Linked DNA regions of Homo sapiens: region 2 is linked to region 1. The links are contacts of gene promoters, found by promoter capture Hi-C in blood cells and fetal thymus (Javierre and others, 2016). All regions are on one chromosome and are shown on one strand. Each heading gives the region's core, a stretch centred on a gene start or on the middle of the fragment in contact. The rest is flanking DNA. Distances are from core to core; before and after follow the strand shown.

The links. Contacts are between HindIII fragments. The CHiCAGO score rates a contact against its expected background, and 5 or more counts as called.
Region 2: a fragment that was not itself captured here is called in contact with the fragment with the promoter of SHFL in region 1 in 1 of 17 cell types (neutrophils); the score reaches 6.2 in neutrophils.

The regions. Positions count from the first base shown.
Region 1 is chr19:10,084,907-10,088,781 of GRCh38, reverse strand. It overlaps SHFL (shiftless antiviral inhibitor of ribosomal frameshifting), which reads right to left and starts at 2,465. Exons shown (of 8, transcript NM_018381.4): 1 at 2,334-2,465; 2 at 1,730-1,853; 3 at 1,482-1,531. The coding sequence starts at 2,354. RefSeq lists silencers at 2,197-2,476, 2,547-2,766. The HindIII fragment of the contact is 8,670 bases long and covers 1-3,875 here.
Region 2 is chr19:10,386,837-10,391,161 of GRCh38, reverse strand. It overlaps CDC37 (cell division cycle 37, HSP90 cochaperone), which reads left to right. Exons shown (of 8, transcript NM_007065.4): 8 at 1-29. Among named protein-coding and RNA genes, the nearest start is that of TYK2, 8.4 kb to the right of the region's middle. RefSeq lists enhancers at 2,268-2,327, 1,907-2,407. The HindIII fragment of the contact is 5,115 bases long and covers 1-3,886 here.

The DNA of each region.
Region 1 (3,875 bases), core at 1,216-3,715:
TAGAGAAGGGGTTTCACCGTGTTGGCCAGGCTAATCTCGAACTCCTGACCTCAAGTGATCTGCCCGCCTCAACCTCCCAAAGTGCTGGAATTACAGGCGTGAGCCACCACACCTGGCCCCTCTGCTATCATTTTTATCATACTTTTATATGTATAAATGTAGACTATGATACATGTTTTGTTATACTCTGGTTTTGTTTGTTTTTGTTTGTTTGAGACGGAGAATCGCTCTGTTGCCCAGGCTGGAGTGCAGTGGTGCGATCTCGGCTCACTGCAAGCTCCGCCTCCCGGGTTCACGCCATTCTCCTGCCTCAGCCTCCTGAGTAGCTGGGACTACAGGGGCCTGCCAGCACAACTGGCTAATTTTTTTTTTCGTATTTTTAGTATAGATGGGGTTTCACCATGTTAGCCAGGATGGTCTCGATCTCCTGACCTCATGATCCGCCCGCCTTGGCCTCCCAAAGTGCTGGGATTACAGGCGTGAGCCACCGCGCCCGGCATTTTTTTTTTTTTTTTTTTTTTGAGACAGAGTTTCGCTCTTGTTGCCCAGGCTGGAGTGCAATGGTGTGATCTCAGCTCACTGCAACCTCCGCCTCCTGGGTTCAAGTGATTCTCCTGCCTCAGCCTCCCGAGTAGCTGGGATTACAGGCATGCGCCACCATGCCCAGCTAATTTTGTATTTTTTAGTAGAGACGGGTTTCTCCATGTTGGTCAGGCTGGTCTCAAACTCCCGACCTCAGGTGATCCGCCCGCCTCGGCCTCCCAAAATGTTGGGATTGCAGGCGTGAGCCACCGCGCCTGGCCTATTATACTCTTTAACAGCCCTACACTAAGCCTTTCAGGCAGGCTAAATCCACAGCGTTCCCATCACCAAAGCTGTCAAAGAAGCAAAGTAGCCATGATGCACCTGTGCTTCAAAGCCATTCATTCATTCATTCATTCATTCATTCATTCATTCATTCAACACAAGGGTTCCATTCCCCTGCCTCTCTCTCCTCCCCAATCCTCTGCTCATCCTAGCCTTTCTAGAGACTGCCACTAACAACCCTTCCCCACCTCCCAGCCTTTGCTTATGCCATTCCCTCCCCCACCCCAAGACCCCTGCCTTTCTTTCCCTTTCCCCTCCCAGGGCTCACTCCTCCCCATCCTTTAAGACTTGGTACCTCCTCCTCCAGTAAGCCTTCTCTGACCTCTGCGCCCCCGCTATGATGGCAATAATCCTGGCTCCTTTCATTGCTTAGTTTCATGGCTCTCTCCCCCATTGAATACAATCAGCACATAATGAGCGCCTACTGTTTGCAGGCTCCCTGGCCGGACAAATGATGGAGAGGTGAAAAAGTGAGATTGGGTGATGAGTTATGGACCGACAATGCCTGGTCCCTCCTGTTTCAGAGGGGGGTCAGTCACCATGAACGGGTCGGGTCCCCCCTCTTGCTCTCCCTCCCGTGACCCGGTCCTTTGCGAGGGGAGGGGATAGGTTACCTGGGCATCCAGATCGTTACTTAGTTCTTGGCCATCTTTTTGCTTTACCCCTGCGGGGGAGAGTGCATATAAGGGAAGGGCCCTTGAAGGGTCTGTGGGAGTTCCAGGCCACCCAGAGCCGCGACGCAGAGCCTCCCCAAGGCTGGGACCTCCGGGGGAGGTGATCTCAACGCCTCTCCCTAGACCACGCCCCCTCGGCGCTCCCACGCGCGGTCCCCGCACCAGGCCCGGGACCCCTGCAGCCTCACCGTACACGATGGAGCGCCCCACTCCCGTGTGGTCGCTGCCGAATTTCCTCATCAGAGCCCCCGCCTTCTTGGAGGATACCTTCCCATGAAACTTCTCCCGGAGGCGCCGGACGCTCTTCTCCAGCTGGGATGGAGACAGGGGGGTTCCGGTGGGGGAAGGGGAAACGGGATCATCCCTCCCCCATCTCTAGGCACCGTTCTCCCGGCCCGAACTTGACCCTTGGTTTTGGCCTCCGCCGCCCCCCCCCCGCCTTTCATCCCTTTACGGCATTTCCTGGAAAAAGCCAAAGTCCCCACAGGGCGTTGGGGGAAGGCGCGGACTGGGGCGAGCGTCCCAGCCTAAGGTGTGGGGGGGCGGCCAGGTTATCTCTGGCCTCTGACCTTTGACCCTGCAGCCCCCGCTTTTCCTCGGGGAGGCCTCATTTCGCTCTGGGGAAACGTGGGAGTCACTTTCCTTTTCAAGGGGGGCGAGCGCCAGGCAGGGGTAAGGATCTGGGGTTCTAGGATGGGGGTCCCCAGGAACTGCGAAGCCCCCTCCGCGCCTCCCGGCCGCTCCTCGGGGTCTGTCGCGGCTGACCCCGGCCCAGCCGTAGCCATCGCTTACCTCCACACCTTCCTGAGACATGGTGGCGGCGGCGCAGTTCCCCGCGAGGGTCCGCACTGCGCGGCTCAGCCGCCCCCCTACCTGGGTGCGCCCGTCGGTCCAGCAGCCGCGCAGGGCAGGGGGCGGTGCCTCGGGGCCGGCTCCGCCCTTCCTCCCCGGCCCCTGTTTCGCTTTCGATTCAGGGGGGACCCGGCGCGCTGGCTCCGCCCTGGCTCCGCCTCTGCTCTTGCGCCCCAAACCCAGGCGGGCGCCCCGGGTCTGCACCCTGCGGCGGAGCGCGCAGACCTCGGACGGGGGAGGCGGCGCGGCCTCTGCAGTCGGTCACATGTCCCCACGCTGCGCGGGGTCCGCGTCTTCACGTCCCTCGTGGGGGCGGGGCCGCATCAGAAGGCCGCGGCGAGGCCCCGCGCCCCCCCACCCAGCGCGCGCTCCCCCAGTTCATCACCCTCCTCTCTGTTCTCCCTCCTTCCCCGGGAATCTGGCGCTCATGAGGACCTGGGCCCTTTTCCTGCCCTGAGTCTCTGTCCTAGCTACGGTCACCTCTCTCAACCTCAGTTTACCCCTCTGTGAAATGGGGAGAATCCTGGTGTCTACACCATGGAGTGGAGTATGTGCCAAGATTCCCGAGTGGATCGCGTAATAGCGCCTGGCTTGCAGTAGGCGTTCAACTAGTCACTGGGCCACCTGCTGTGTGCCCTTGATAGGGGCAGGCAGTGTGTGTGTGGTTGGGGGGAGCGGTGCTTGAGAAAAATACAGATTCTTGGTCTCTAGTAGCCCGGTAGAATCCGGCTGTCTCAGGGATCCAGGGAATCTGCAATGGTTAAGAACCCCGTGGGACGGACAATTCTAACCCAGTACAGGGCACATCAGGGAGCCCTTAGGTGGTGGGGCTCTGGCCCAGCCTGGGGACACAGAGATGGCAACTTCATTGGAGGAGGGGATGCTTTGTAGAGTCACTGAAATTGGAGGTCTTAGCTAGGGGAGGAATAGAGTGGGGAGATGAGGCAGCCGTGCAGAGCCCCCAAAGCAAGACTAAGTCTGGGGTTTTTGGGCAATGGCTTCTCAAGCCCAGCACTCTTGACACTTTGGGCGGCCTAGTTCTTTGTGTGGGGGACTGTCCTGTGTATTGGGGGACATTTAACACCATCCCTGGCCTCCACCCACTAGATGCCAGTGGTTCCCTACTCTCCCTGTTGTGACTACCAAAAACGTCTCCAGAGACTGCCGGATACTCTCTGAGGAGCAAAATAGCATTGTGTTCAACGACTCCAAATTTTTTTCTCCATTGCACACCCCTATAGGTAAAAGTGTTAAAGTTACACCCCCAGATGGATATTTATTCATTTATTTATTTTTTGAGACAAGATCTTGCTCTGTTGCCCAGGCTGGAGTGCAGTGGTTTGATGGTGGCTCACTGCAGCCTCTAACTCCTGGGCTCAAACGATCCTCCTGCCTCAGCCTGCTAAGTAGCTGGGACTACTGGCATATGCCACTATGCCTGGTTAATTTTCTATTTTTTTTGTAGAGACGGGGTCTCACTAT
Region 2 (4,325 bases), core at 80-2,579, 300 kb before region 1:
GATCTTCCAATAAAAGATTTCAGATGCTCTCTGGGCTGCTGGGAGGGCCGTTCAGGCAGCCCATCTCTTGTAGGTGGGAGGGAAACTTGGTGGGATATTGGGGGCTGAGCTGTGCTTCTCTGGTCCTTTGCCCACCAGCCATCGTGGGTCCTCGCCTCACACATGCTGTTCCACAACTTGGAACAGTCTTCTTCCAGAGGCCTCAAAAGCCCCCAACCTTCAGTCTCACCCACCCACTCCCTTGTCCCTACTTGGACCTCCAGAATGCAGGGTGGCCCAAGCTGATCACCACCAGAGGGCAGTAGTGATCTGCAAACCAAGTCACATTCCCTAGGGTTTTGTGGATCTGGCGCACCTGCCCGCACCCCACACCTTTCCAGCTTCCTACAACCTTTTGGAGCAGCATCCTGGATGGACTATATCTCCCCACCCTATGGCCAGCGCTGCCCCCAAACAGATTTTTTTTTTTTTTTTTTTTTGAGAGTCCAGCTATCACCCAGGCTGGAGTGCGGTGGTGGAATCTCGGATCACTACAACCTCCACCTCCCAGGTTCAAGTGATTCTCCTGCCTCAGCCTCCTGCTGGGATTATAGGCACCCGCCACCACACTCGGCTAATTTTTTGTGTTTTTAGTAGACATGGGGTTTCACCATATTGGCCACACTAGTCTTGAACTCCTGACCTCAGGTGATCCTCCCACTTTGGCCTCCCAAAGTGCTGGGATTACAGGTGTGAGCCGCTGCACTTGGCCCCACCCCCCCAAACATTCTTGATTCTGACCACTGCCTTTTGTCCCTATGGCCTTCAGGTCCCCATCGCCTCTGGCTCTAATTCCTGCCCCAGCCTCCTCCTCATTCCCCACTACAAGTCAGCCCCTGAACAGGCAGCAGCCAGAGGGTACCTGTGAACACCCAGGTCAGGGCATGTCCCACCTCTGCTCAAAAGCCTCGCAGGACTCCCCTCCCTGGGAGCAGAAGCCGAAGTCCTCCCTGCAACTGACCAGGCCCCCAGCACCATCTGCCTGTTGCCTCGCTGCCCTGTTGTCCCCAACTCCATGCTGGCCCTTGAGCACTTGAAATTTCTCTTCGTGTGGCTTTGGGTGATGCGCTGAGCCTCAGTGTCCCTGCTCTTAGGGCTAACGTCGTCGCGCTAGTGCCCTCCTCAGGCCGTAGTGAGGGGGACAAGTGAGGTAATGGTTCAGACAACTGGCACCTGGCACTCAGATTCTCTGAACGGGGACCTTGGCACTTGCTGGCCGTCTTCAAAAGTCACAAAATATTTCTGCCACAGGAAAAGTCTTAAAGAAGAGTGCACGGCCAGGCGTGGCTCACACCTGTAATCCCAACACTTTGGGAGACTGAGGCAGGAGGATCACTTGAGCCCAGGAGTTCAAGACCAGCCTGGCTAACATGGTGAAACCCAGTCTGCACTAAAAACACAAAAATTAGCCAGGTATGGTGGCACGTGCCTGTAGTCCCAGCTACTCAGGAAGCTGAGGCAGGAGAACTGCTTGAACCTGAGAGGTGGAGGTTGCAGTGAGCCAGGATCACGCCACTGCGCTCCAACCTGGGTGACAAAGACTTATCTCAAAAACAACAACAACAACAAAAAAAAAAAACAGTGCTGGGCGCAGTGGGGCGCACCTGTAGTTACAGATACTTGGGAGGCTAAGGCAGGAGGATTGCTTGAGCCCGGGAGGTCAAGGCTGCAGTGAGCTAAGATCAAAGTACAATAAATACCCAGGTTCACATCAGTTTAAGACATGAAATACCTCCGATCCAGTAGACTTATGCCTACCTCTCCTGGGGGACATCATCTCTGAGGGGACTGCTTGTCACTCAGACCACAGATCAATGCCACTTCTCTGAGGCCCTCCTTGACCTACTTTAATTCCCCTCATGCTCAGCCACCAAACCTGCCTCACATGCCTTTCTTCACACAGACCTGTGTATTGTCACCTCCCATGTACTGTGGGTGCCACCAGAGCACGGACTTTTTCTTGCAACATACACAGTGCCAGAAAGGGGACCTTCAGGAAACATTTGCAAAAGCATTGGATAAAAACCCCTGGAATGCTGTTGTGCCCAAGCCGATCACCACCAGGGGGCAGGAGTGAGCTGCAAATCTAGTAACTTTCCTTAGTGTTTTGTATGAGTGAGAACGACAGGTAGGAGCTGCAGGGGGACTCCTGGAACCCTGATTGAGCCTCAGACACCTTCCAAGATCTTTTTATTTATTTATTTTTCAGAGACAGGGTTCTCTCCATGTTGTTCAGGCTGGATTTGAACAGAGCTGAAGCAGTCTGCTCGCCTCAGCTTCCCAAAGTGTTGGGACTACAGGCCAGTGTGCCCTGCCGAGTAAAAATTTTAATTTTTGAGCGGGGCGCGGTGGCTTACGCCTGTAATCCCAGCACTTTGGGAGGCCGAGGAGGGCGGGTCACAAGGTCAGGAGTCCGCGACCAGCCTGACCAACATGGTGGAACCCCGTCTGTACAAAAAATACAAAACTTAGCCAGGCGTGGTGGCACGTGCCTGTAATCCCAGCTACTCGGGAAGCTGAGGCAGGAGAATCGCTTGAACCCGGGAGGCAGAGGTTGCAGTGAGCCAAGATCGCGCCACTGCACTCCAGCCTGGACAACAGAGTGAGACTCCGTCTCAAAAATAATAATAATAATAATAATTTTTGTTCATCATACACATTTTGGTGTTAATTTCAGTTTTTCAAAATACTGCATTCCTTGTTATTGAAGATTTTGTTTGTATTTTGTGAGACTGAGTCTCACTCTGTCGCCCAGGCTGGAGTGCAGTCGCATGATCTCGGGCTCACTGCAACCTCTGCCTCCCAGTTTCAAGGGATTCTCCCTCCTCAGCCTCCCAAGTAGCTGGGATTACAGGCGCACTCCACCACACCTGGCTTTTTTTTTTTTTTTTTTTTGAGACAGAGTCTCACTCTGTCGCCCAGGCTGGAGTGCAGTGGCATGATCTCGGCTCACTGCAAGCTCCACCTCCGGGGTTCACGCCATTCTCCTGCCTCAGCCTCCCGAGTAGCTGGGACTACAGGCGCCCGCCACCACACCCGGCTAATTTTTTGTATTTTTAGTAGACACGGGGTTTCACCGTGGTCTCGATCTCCTGATCTCGTGATCTGCCCTCCTCGGCCTCCCAAAGTGCTGGGATTACAGGTGTGAGCCACTGTGCCCGGCCCTTTTTTTTTTTTTTTTTTTTTTTTTTTGTGAGATGGAGTCTTGCTCTGTCGCCCAGGCTGGAGTGCAGTGGCCTGATCTCAGCTCACTGCAAGCTCTGCCTCCCGAGCTCACGCCATTCTCCTGCCTCAGCCTCCTGAGTAGCTGGGACTACAGGCGTCTGGCACCACGCCCGGCTAATTTTTATGTATTTTTAGTAGAGACGGGGTTTCGCTGTGTTAGCCAGGATGGGTTTGATTTCCTGACCTCATGATCCACCTGCCTCAGCCTCCCAAAGTACTGGGATTACAGGCGTGAGCTACCGCACCCGGCCTAATTTTTGTATTTTTTGTAGACACAGGGTTTCACTATGTTGGCCAGGTTGGTCTCAAACTCCTGACCTCAAGAGGACTGCCCGCCTTGGCCTTCCGAAGTGCTGGGATTACACACATGAGCCACCATGTGTGGCCCCCCCCTTTTTTTTTTTTAAGAGATGGGATCTGGCTCTGTCACCCAGGCTGGAGTGCAGTGGCACAATCATAGCTCACTGCAGCCTCTAACCTCTGGGCTCAAGTGATTCTCCTGCCTCAACCTCCTGAGTAGCTCAAATTACAGCCAAGAGACACACACTGCATCTGGCTATCCACCACCAGTCCTTTTATTTATTTTTTTTTTGAGACCGAGTCTTGCTCTGTTGCCCAAGCTTAAATGCAGTGGCACGATCTCGGCTCACTGCAACCTCCATCTCCCAGGTTCAAGCGATTCTCCTGCCTCAGCCTCCTGTACAGGCATGCACCACCACACCTGGCTAATGAAGTGTATTAACTCATTTGATGTCCCTGACATGCCTCTGGGTTTGGGACTAAATAGTCACATCTTGCAGAGGAGGAAACTGAGGCACAGTGGGGTTAAGGGGCCGCCCAGGATCACACAGTGATGGAGCTGGGGCTTGAACTCAGCCCGTCTGGTGCCAGCCTTCATGTGTGTAAGTTACTCCTCTGTATCCTCTCAGGCCAGCACCGAGTGTCCCATTTGGGGCTGCTCCTGAGAATTTTCTAGAGAACACAGGTTCACACACGTGCCCAAAGGAGCGTAGAATTTTTGTGGAAAGATTCCCAGGAGGCTGAGTGCGGTAGCCTCATGC